Linked DNA regions of Homo sapiens: regions 2, 3 and 4 are each linked to region 1. The links are contacts of gene promoters, found by promoter capture Hi-C in blood cells and fetal thymus (Javierre and others, 2016). All regions are on one chromosome and are shown on one strand. Each heading gives the region's core, a stretch centred on a gene start or on the middle of the fragment in contact. The rest is flanking DNA. Distances are from core to core; before and after follow the strand shown.

What was found. The method cuts DNA at HindIII sites, captures the fragments that hold promoters and counts their contacts. A CHiCAGO score of 5 or more calls a contact.
Region 2: a contact is called between a fragment that was not itself captured here and the fragment with the promoter of CHST10 in region 1, in 1 of 17 cell types (M0 macrophages). The highest score is 5.1, in M0 macrophages.
Region 3: the fragment with the promoter of REV1 here is called in contact with the fragment with the promoter of CHST10 in region 1 in 6 of 17 cell types (monocytes, fetal thymus, erythroblasts and 3 more); the score reaches 13.2 in monocytes.
Region 4: a fragment that was not itself captured here is called in contact with the fragment with the promoter of CHST10 in region 1 in 1 of 17 cell types (M0 macrophages); the score reaches 5.2 in M0 macrophages.

Annotation. Positions count from the first base shown.
Region 1 is chr2:100,416,310-100,419,009 of GRCh38, forward strand. CHST10 (carbohydrate sulfotransferase 10) reads right to left here and starts at 1,359. Exons shown (of 7, transcript NM_004854.5): 1 at 1,065-1,359. RefSeq lists silencers at 855-1,004, 1,015-1,464. The HindIII fragment of the contact is 2,675 bases long and covers 1-2,098 here.
Region 2 is chr2:99,586,453-99,589,152 of GRCh38, forward strand. It overlaps AFF3 (ALF transcription elongation factor 3), which reads right to left. Exons shown (of 25, transcript NM_001386135.1): 16 at 702-826. Among named protein-coding and RNA genes, the nearest start is that of REV1, 98 kb to the left of the region's middle. The HindIII fragment of the contact is 2,150 bases long and covers 358-2,507 here.
Region 3 is chr2:99,488,707-99,491,406 of GRCh38, forward strand. REV1 (REV1 DNA directed polymerase) reads right to left here and starts at 1,311. Exons shown (of 23, transcript NM_016316.4): 1 at 1,111-1,311. RefSeq lists silencers at 786-865, 936-1,035, 1,146-1,815 and an enhancer at 1,249-2,134. The HindIII fragment of the contact is 11,070 bases long and covers 1-2,700 here.
Region 4 is chr2:99,565,219-99,567,921 of GRCh38, forward strand. It overlaps AFF3 (ALF transcription elongation factor 3), which reads right to left. Exons shown (of 25, transcript NM_001386135.1): 20 at 269-405. Among named protein-coding and RNA genes, the nearest start is that of REV1, 77 kb to the left of the region's middle. The HindIII fragment of the contact is 3,586 bases long and covers 1-2,703 here.

The DNA of each region.
Region 1 (2,700 bases), core at 109-2,608:
CTTTGTTCAGTTTTGCAAACACTCCAATTTTCATTTCAGCGAAGAAGAGAATTTTCTGCTCAGGTATTTCTTTGAGATTCTATTCTTCAGGGTCAAGAGCAATTCTGAATTCTGAATTCCAATTCTGAGCCAAGATGGACTAAGCTCTTAATTATAATGGGGAGGGAAGGGAAAAGACCACTTCTCTCTTTGTGTCTTTTCATTTTAACCCAGTCACTGAAAAGAGTGAAGGAGGAGGTGGTTGGTTATCAGAGAGCCAGAGCTAAACTGAGCTGCCTAATTTTAACAGCGTCTGAGACATTTCTCACTCTGGCACTCTAAGCAATGCAATAACCCAACTCCTCATGGCCCAAAGCCCCAGACTCTGGTTTTCAGACAAAACAACAACAACAACAACAACAACAAAAACCCACCGTTATGACAGTCCTGCCGCTGAGCTAACCAGAACCTGGCTGCACTACTTTCCATTCACTGCCCAACCCTTTCCTGCCTTGCAGACTTGGAAAGCAAAAATGACATTTTGGAAAACCTGGTTCACCTTCCCAGCCAGAAGTGCAGAACTGCATGCCTCAACCTCCAACTTCGGACAGGCCTCCTGACAGCGAAGATCAGAGGCTCAGGGCACCCCGGGGCCCCTCAGGCAGGGAACGTGCATTCCCACCCCTGACTCCCCTCGCACCGAAGCTGCACATGCTCCTTCTTCCCTGCCTTCCTCTGCATGCTCCTTGGACCCAAGCTGAACCCTTTCTTCCTCTCTCCATCTACAATTACAAACGCAAATTCTCAGCCAAGGATGAAAGAAGTAAATTGTAGGCTCGCACAATATCAATAATTCCGCGGGTCACAGCATCCCGCACAAGGACGCCTTCTTATTGCATAATTAACGCGAGGAAGGCTCTTCCCGCTACTCCCGCGAACTAGGGAGGTCTTCAAGTCGCCAAAACACACCGGGATGTGGCTCGCCAGGACAAAACCCGCGGGTTCCCCGGTTTTTCCGTGCGCCCCGCGGCGGGGAGAGGGGCCCAGGCGCTGAAACCCACCCGCCTGCGCGTCCCCGAGCTCACCCTACTGGAGCGGCGCTCGTCCGGGTCCTTAGGCTCCTCCCCTGGCCCTGGGGGCGCCGCGCGGGTCGGGCTTCGCCGGGCCTGTGGGCGAAGCGCGCGGGGTCCTGGGAGCTCGGGAGGCCCGCCCCACCTTGCCCCGAGGCCTCCGCGCCGCGGCCCGTCGGGTCCCGGGATGTGGCGGCGGCGGCAGCGGAAGTAAGGAAGACGCCCGGCGCGCTAGACCGGCTTTGGGGGCCAGAACGCCGGCACCGCCTCACGCGGCCCCCTCGCGCCTATCCGGCCGTGCGCGCCGCCTGCCCGCGCGCGTCCCCGCCGCCGTCCCCGGCCGTGCGCGTTCCAGCGGGTCGCGGGGAGTGGGGAGGGGCGCGGCCGCGGGACCCCAGGCCCGGATCCCGAGTCTCCCTTTCTGCCGCTGCAAAAGCGTTCTTTCTGACCGAGACCTGCGGCCGGAACAAGTCCCGCTGGGCCTCCATCCAGAAAACAGGTTCGCTTTTTGAGAAAGAAAAAAAATCCCAAACTTGGAAAAAGGCAAAAAACCAAACCAAAACAACAACAAAGTCACACACACACACAAAACCACCTTGGAAAAATACAAAAAATAGATAAGTAAATTTCTTAAATCCCCAACTTGGAAAAAGGCCACTTGCTTGCGTTAAGGGTAACTTCTAGCATTTTCTAATAAGCCTACTTAGTAAAAGGGGGACGTTCTATTCTTTAAAGAACCCCCTTGGCTGTCCGGGTTGGGGATGTAACTGTTGTCTAGGTACAGTGGATTAACGAAGGACAATGATAACGGCCTGACCAGTTTACAGACCTGAAGAATTGTAACTTCTTAACCTGCAGAAATGGATAAGGCCTGAGTCAACCTCAAAGGTATTGGGATTTTATTGCCCCAAAGAAGATAAACTAGTTTTATTTTTATACAACCTACATGTTTGTTAACTACCCGACTATATCTGTGTCTATTTAGCAAACAAGTAAAATAGATACGTGTATGTATACACACACACACACACACACACACAATTTTTCAAAGCTTTCAAGGAACAAGCGTTTTTGTTTTTGTTTTTTTTCTTTTTTATTGGTTCCCTCCTTAATGAGTTAATAATATTGAGGGAGCTGGCTGTTTGAGTATTTCACTTCTAGCCCCATTACTAATCATGGTTTAAAGGTTCTGTCCCTCATGCAGAAGACGTTTACTGAGCCCTTTTTTGGGGCCCTGTGGTTGAGATGAGACATTGGGTTTCCCTTTGAGGATTTGAATCGATACACGTGCACGGCAGAAAAGAAGTAAGTAAATGTGAAGCTTGGATGTGATGCAGCATATTATGCAGGATTTAAGGATCAAGGCTCTGGGAATCAGACCACGTGGATTCAGAGCCTTAGTCACTGCATATGACTGTTGACCTTGTCACACTCTCATCTCTCTGTGTCCCAGTCTTCTCATCTACAGAATGTGGTACTAGGCCGGGCGTGGTGGCTCACGCCTGTAATCCCAACATTTTGAGAGGCGGAGGTAGGTGGATCACCTGAGGTCGGGAGTTCGAGACCAGCATGACCAACATGGAGAAACCCTGTCTCTAATAAAACTACAAAAAAAATTAGCCAGGAGTGGGGGCACGTGCCTGTAATCCCA
Region 2 (2,700 bases), core at 183-2,682, 830 kb before region 1:
TCTCTCTTCAAAATTCTATGTATACGGTCAGGGAGGGTGAGGAGTGTCTTAGAGAGGAAAAGTGGTTTCCGTGCTGTGGTATTTCAAAATGGAAAGAGCTTCTACGACTGATGATAAGCTACTTGTTTCTAATAAATACCTGGGATCTTGCTTTGCTTGTAAGCCATTCATCACAGAGGGGAGTCAGTGCTGGATGCGTCCATCTGGAACCTCTTGAGAGGAGTGTGTGGGTGGCCATTTAACCTTGGGAGCACGGACCCTTCTAAGGCCACAATTTTAGTCTATATCCAATTAATTGCTTTAGGTGCTACACATGGAGATTCAGCTTGAAGTGTGTATTTCTTCGTCTGTGTAATAAGCTTAGTGTTCTTAGGAGTTTAGCGGTTACCATTAAAATATTGATTAGAAATTCAGTTATTAAGTTTTTTTGGGGGAAGGGCATGTCTTGGGGAGTGCAGAGCTGTGTGTAACTAGTATCTGGTCTTTGGTTATGGAGAAGAACCTTGCGTGAGTATCTGGAGCTATAATGTGTGGCACATGTGTAGCCATAATAATAAGATTTGGGTTAAAGGAGGGAAGCAAGTCTGCAGACCTTGACCAGAGTAGTCCTCAAAAAGCCTGACCCTCCTCCAACATAGCAGGTGACTTTCAGACCCAGAGATCTCTCCAGCTCACTTCCACTTTGGAGGGAATGCACGTACCTGTTGATGTTCATGTTGCAGTGGTTTGCAGACAAAGTATTACTGGTGGAGGTGGCCAGTCTTGAAGAGCTGTCTTTCTCTCCCTGGGACTTCTTGATCTCCCTGTAGTCGTCTTCGTTGTCACACTGTATGGGAATAAACTAAAGTCAATCAGCACTGGATTTCAAGAGGTATTATGAGTTCCCAGGCACCGACTTCCACAGAGCAAGGCCTCCTGGGAGCCCCACTCACCTGGCTTCCCCGAAGCACAGCCTGAGCAGCTGTGCCCCTGCCATAGCTTCCCCATTAGCTCCTCAACAAGCAAGGATGAAATCTGTCAGTTTTACAATTGACAGCTGATGGAGAGGAGAGGCACGACGCCATGATTCAACATTTTGAATTCTGAAAGCTGCTCTGCCATCAACCGGCTTAGGATTTAGCCCTCCAACTGGTCTGAGTTCCCACTGCAGCTCCAGCGGCACTCACCTTGGCATTTCTTGGTATCAGAATAAAGTACAGCAAGTGTGTGTTCTCTGGGATTCATGCCATAAGGGCAGTGGCAAGCCTGGACTTTTCTGTTTTAAAAATTCTTGCTTTGGCCAGGTGCGGTGGCTCATGCCTGTAATCCCAGCACTTTGGGAGGCCGAGGCAGGCGAATCACGAGGTCAGGAGATCAACACCATCCTGGCCAACATGGTGAAACCCCATCTCTACTAAAATACAAAAAATTAGCCAGGTGTGGTGGTGCACGCCTGTAGTCCCAGCTACTTGGGAGGCTGAGGCAGGAGAATCGCTTGAACCTGGGAGGCAGAGATTTAAGTGAGCTGAGATCACGCCACTGCACTCCAGCCTGGTGACAGAGTGAGACTCCGTCTCAAAAAAAAAAAAAAAAATTATTGCCTTTTGTGAACTGCAAGCAGAAGCTATTATCTCTTGGTGCCTTAATTCTAGTTTTCAATTACTATCCCATGACATCTTAGAATCCATAAAGTACCTTTTTCTAAAACAGTACTTTGATTGGATCCTTGTTGCCATGATTGGGTTTAATTTTATTTGTTTATTTAGAGACAGTCTTGCTCTGTCACCCAGGCTGGAGTGCAGTGGTGCGATCATGGCTCACTGCAGCCTCGACCTCCCAGGCTCAGGTGATCCTCCCGCCTCAGCCTTCCAAGTAGCTGGGAATGCAAGTGTGTGCCACCATGCCTGGCTAATTTTTTGTATTTTTTGTAGAGACGGGGCTTTGCCATGTTGCTCAGGCTGATCTCAAACTCCTGGGCTCAAGCGATCCTCCCACCTTGGCCTCCCAAAGTGCTGGGATTACAGGTGTCAGCTATCAGGCCAGCCTGTGTTTAACTTTAGATATGTGTTAAGGTGCAACACAAATATATTCAGAAAGTACCATTTTCCATGAGATAACAGGAACCTAGTATGGTATCCTCAGGGCTGTCTGCATTGTTTTCCAGGAGACAAGTGCCAACACCAAAGAGAGAAAGACTCTGACTTTCTCGCTCTGGCTGGGATTTTGCCACACAGCCTCTGCCACAGGGGCTCCCAGATGCCCACACTGTAATAGTACCCCCATGGAGGGCCCAAACCAAAGCTCCGAGTTCTTAGTCCTTAGCTCCAGGGCTCCAGCAGGGCGAGACTCCACAAATTTGACAGCCAGGTCTATGGGGTCCCATCTCCAGCACCCAGTACTGGGGTACTAATGCCCAGAATACCAAGTAAAGAGCACTATAAGAATGTTCTTTCACTTCTCTTGTGTCTGTGTTTAATGATTCTTTAGATTTTATGAGTACAGCCAGGTGTCAGGCTTACTGTAAATGAAGCTTCTTAAGTTAAAATAAAAATGGCCATAAGTAATACAACTATTTAAACACAGAATATTACGGAATTTTATGTAAGTCTTTCTGCACATCTCTCTAGTAAACTCTGCATGCCTGGATGGCTTTATGTATTTCCAATCTGTCTATATATTACCAATGTCTATCTCTGCATATTTCATGTGTATATTTCCATC
Region 3 (2,700 bases), core at 61-2,560, 930 kb before region 1:
CCCACAGGCTGATTTGCTACATACAGAACTCCATAGAAAGAACCAAGGTTATGGTTGGTCCTACCCTACCTAAACAGGAAATGGCTTATTCTCGGAGACTAAAGTGCCAAGTCCGGAAAGACCAGACAGATACACAGAATTACAGACTGTTACATAAAGTCCTTAATAGTTACAAGCCCTTGTTGTGCTATGTGCTAGTCTGCATTATTTTCACCTAAATGAAACCATTTCTACTTAGTACATGGCGTGAGAAGACGTGGAGATAAAGAGAATTAGCAGACGTATATTATCTGCAATTTATCTTACGGAGGAGTACATTAAGGAGTGTTATGTGAGATTATTTCTTTACAAACTGAGAATAGGTAGGAAGAGCAGCGAAACACAGCGCGGCTCGGTGCGCCCAGAGCGGCGTCACTGTAACAGTACAGAAGTGGGCAAGGGGCTCTCGGAAGGACAGTTGGGGAACGGCGCCCAGCGTATTTAGCGAACGGACAAGCAGCAAGGAAAAACAAGGGAGCAACAACCGCCTTCGGACATTCCGACCGGTTCTGGGATGCACCGGGGACGTCGAAGGCGGGGTGCGGAAAAACGCTGTGGCTGGAGTGCGGGTGGGAGCGGCGGCTCGACCGGGTCGACATTCTACAAACGCTTGTGGAACGAACGCCCGAACGCGCGCGTGAATGAATGGCGCGGAACTGAATGGCCGGCCGAGGCGCCGGCGCAGGAGGAAGGAGTTTGCGGCGCGGTCTGACCGGGCCGGCGGGATGCGGCCGGGCGCGGAGGGAAGGGCCGCTGCGCCAGGGGTCGGCGCGGGGCGGCCCATGGGGCTGGCGGCGGCGCGGGGCCGGCCGCGCCATGACGGAAGGGAAGGGGAGGGGAGGTCACACATTACATAACCCGGCGGCTGCGAGCGTCAGGGGAAGGCGCCGTGGACAGCCCAGGCCGCGACAGGACGGCCGCGGGCCGGGGCCGGGGCGACGCACCCCTCCCCCGCGCCACCTCAGGCCGACCGCGCTCTGGCCGCTGCCGGGCGGGTCTGCGGCGCCTCCGGGCGACGCGTGTCCGATCCCGCCCCTCCCCCACCCCGCCGCCGGCCCGGGGGTCGCTCACCTTCCGCGTTGCCCCAGACCACCATGCCCGGGCCCGGCGGCCTTCTCCGGCCTTGCGGACCCCGGCCCCGCCGCCGCCAGTGCCCTCGCCAGGGACCAGGGAGGAGGGCCGGGGGAAGGCAGCCCCACCGCTGAGCAGCGCCGCGGTCCACGCTCCCCCACGCTCGCGGCAACCAACCCCGCGCGCGCTCCGCGGTGGCTCTCCGCCCCTCCCCCTCCGGTTAGCGCGCGCGCCGCAGCCACGCCCCCTAGCGTTCCGCGCGCGCTCCCCGGCCCCGCTCGCGCTCACAGCCGCGCGGCGCACGCGCTCTGCTCCCCCCGGCCCGGGGCGACCCCAGCCTCGGGCGTAGCACCGCGGCGCCCGGCGTCGGCCTCCGTGTTCCTCCCCTCCCCGGCCCCGCCCTGTTGTTCTGCAGCCGCCCGCAAGGGGCAGCGCCTGGGCGGCACGTGACCGTCTCGCTAGCTGGGCGGAGGGGAGCGCAGCGCGGGCCCGCCCACGCACTGCGCCGCCTGCCCGCCCGTCCTGCTCCGGTCACCCCCGCGCTTCGTTGACCGGGTCGCGGCTCTTCGGTTGCCATTCGGACAGCGCGCCGCTCCGTGCACAGCGAGTCCCCGCGCCTGCCCCGCCTTGGGGCTCCCCAGTGGGGAAGGACACAAGTGCAGACACTGACCGGGCTTCAAACCCCGGTACTGTGTGAAGATGCGCCAGACGCCCGGGTTCCCTCCTTAAGCAATTGATTTACAGTGACATCTAGTGGAGAAAGGGACACACATGAACTGACATTTTCCTATGTCCAGAGCAACCGAGAACCACGGCCCACTCAGGTTCGCGGGAAGGAGCACTGCGCCACGGCGTTTTCGGGATTCGTGGCCTGCTCCCGCAGGGCACAGACACTATCTTCTGTCCTTTGAGTGCCCGGGCAGCATTGCGCCTGAGTATTTGTAAACGGAGGGCCGGTATCCCATCCCATGTACAGCGCTGGAGTTACCCGAGAAAGCAGTTTTCTATGAATATAAAAATAATATCCTATATTATGTATGCGTAAGTACAATTCTAATTGAGGGCCTTCTAGCAGAAAACAATCCGTCCATAAGGACCACTTTCTCCCTCTTGGCAGGGTCGCTTTGAAGACTCCACATTGTTACATAATAGTCTTTATTGTTGTAATGCACAAACATGAAGATACTTTTTTCCCACTCATTCCCTTGCCTAAAATGCTTCAGAGTTTGCAGGTACTTAGGAAACAATCAGTATTCTTTTGAAAACTGATTTGCAGAGTTGGAACTTGTTTACTAGCAACACAGAGAATACTCAAATAGCTCATTTCTTTCCCTTTCAGTTTTTTGCCATTTTATAGACTTCTATAAATGCACTTCAACTTCAGTATTCTCGTCGCTAATCCAACGAATTTAGATTGCATACTTTTCAAAGACGTCATAATTTAAAACAAATTGCGTAATTGCTTTCTTTTCTTTTCTTTTCTTTTGAGACGAAGTTTTGCTCTTTTGCCCAGGCTGGAGTGCAATGGCGCGATCTCGGCTCACTGCAACCTCCGCCTCCCAGGTTCAAGTGATTCTCCCACCTCAGCCT
Region 4 (2,703 bases), core at 52-2,551, 850 kb before region 1:
GAGAGGAGCAGGCATGTCACAGCCCACTCAGACTCAGCCTCCTCCCTCAGCAATTGGGGGCTACAGCAGCTGCCCCCCTTGCTCACGGAGGACAGAGGGGGCAGGGTGTGCCAAGACGCCTTGCACGACCTTACCCTCTTATTTTGGGGGGATGAACACTGGTTCCTGGTGGGGGATGGTGCAGGCTGACATTCTTTTCTCTGTAACCATAGTGCTTCCACACATTCCTCACTCCTCCCCTCATCCAGCAAGAAAACACGGTGCTTACCTGATGAGCTCTACTGTTTCTGAATACATCGTATAAGGAGATTTGGATTCCATGGGGCCTTGTTCCATTGCATTTCCACACTCGATAAACGACAATGCTGCTTCAGCATAGTTCAAAGCCTTTCCAAACTTTTCCACCTGATCAACAGAGTTAATACAGTGTCTTCCTAAACAATAGTTTTTTTTAAATGGCATTGTCATGTAGTTTATACACCTTATTTGAGAAACCCAACTCTGACTTCTAAAATCCTATGAAGCTGAGAGAAGAAAGAAATAGAATACTTCTTTTCCTACTTATTTTCTCAAACTGCTACTGGCTTGGAGTAAGTGAGCGAACAGTTATATACAGAATTGTATCAAACCCATGTGACAGCTGTCAATCAACAGAGCTCAGAACTGCATGGCTGCTCTGATTTCTGTTTCCCTCTTTCTAACCCCTAATGGTTTGGCGACTTCATTCCTTGTTCCTCCATGCTATGCTAAATATGCATCAAAGTTGGTAGGTCTGGTCCCATATAAGAGTTTTCATACTTCTTTTGGTACATCCCCAACTTGGATGGTTCTAGGCCTTGGTTATTATCTTTTACATTATTTGTGGCACTTATATCTCCATGCCTTCCTCTTCTCAATTTTTTTTAATTTTTTTATTTTTGAGATGGAGTCTCCCTGCAACCTCTGCCTCCTATGTTCAAGCGATTCTCCTGCCTCAGCCTCCCACGTAGCTGGAATTACAGGCAGGCATAGGCCACCACACCTGGCCTCAATTGTTTTTTTTTTTTGTTGTTGTTAATATTTAGAACCTCACTTAAGAGTGAGAGTGAGTAGGGGAAAGGAGAGGAGATAAACCTCAAGGAGCTATTTCAGCTTTGCTAAAATAGGACAAAAAGTTGAAAATTATTAATAAAAATGATTTTTGGTTGGGCCTGGCGGCTCATGCCTGTAATCCCAGTGTTTTGGGAAGGTGAGGCAGGAGGATCACTCGAGCCTGGAAGTTTGAGGTTCCAGTGAGCTATGATCGCCCCACTGTGCTCCAACCTGGATAACACAGCAAGACGCTGTCTCTAAAGGCAAAACAAAACACATTTCTACGGGATTATCTGTAGCTGTCGAAATTTGTGTTATTCTTTCCCCACATCAGCAAGGGCAGCCACAAATCAGCTTTATATTCTTAAGATCTCATCAGTCTAAACTTATGCATCAAGTTCCTGGTTCCATACCTTACTACTCTTTGTAGGTAATTACATATTCTAACTCTGGATTGCAGAATCTCCCCAGTTTTCAAATGATTCATTCATCAATTAAAACAGAATGACATAATACTCAAATACTATTCCAAGTCTTGCCACTAAAAATACAAAAAAAACTTCATTAGTAATGATAGCTTCAAAACCAGAAATGCAGAGCAAAACTTCCTCTCCTTAGCAAATCAAAATTTTAAACTGCTTATAAAGGTAGTGTAGGCTATAATGCAACATTTCTTTTTTCTTTTTTTTTTTTTTGGAGACAGGGTCTCACTCTGTCACCCAGGCTGGAGTGCAGTGGCATGATCTTGGCTCATTGCAATCTCTGCCTCCCGGGTTCAAGCGAGTCTTCTGTCTCAGCCTCCCAAGTAGCTGGGATTACAGGTGTGCACCACCACACCTGGCTCATTTTTTTTTTTTTTTTTGTATTTTTAGTAGAAACAGGGTTTCACCATGTTGGCCAGGCTGGTCTCGAACTCCTGACCTCAAATGATCCACCTGCCTTAGCCTCCCAAAGTGCTGGGATTACAGGTGTGAGCCACCGTGCCTGGCCTATAATGCAACATTTCTTGATAACACTTTCAGATGAAGTCATTTCATTTAGTATTAATATTTCCTAAAGCACCCAATTCTGTGGTATGTGCACTCCACAAGCGAAAGCTCTTTCCAGGAACATATAATAGACTTGGAGAGAGAAAATGTACACCTACAAGACAGTTCAAAGTGCAAGGCAGTCTGTGATTACCCAACAAAATACAAAATGAGGCATCCAGTGCAAATGAGATGGAGGAAAGTGAGCTAGTGATGGGGCCGCAGAGAGGCTGGGAAGGCCACAGGGAGGAGACTGAATATGACGCCGGGAAGGAATGGTAGGGTTTGGCTAGATTTGGGGAGGATGCTGAGGGTGTGAGTGTGCCCATGAGAGTGTGTGAGAGTGAATCTCTGCAGGTGCAAAGGCCCGCTGGCTGGCAGGAGCAAGGTGTGCTTAGAGGTCAGTAGGGGACCAGCCTGGCTGGAGCAGAGTGTCTCCTCTTGGGAAATCGTCAACAGGAAAGATAGGGTTGGGCAAGAGGACAATGAATGAATAATGCTGTAAACTTTAGATGCTGGATTCAGGCAGAAAATCTCTTTCTCCTTAAAAATCTGATGCTCTTCTCCAAGAGTGGCCATTCATTGGCTTCTCCAGATGACCAGA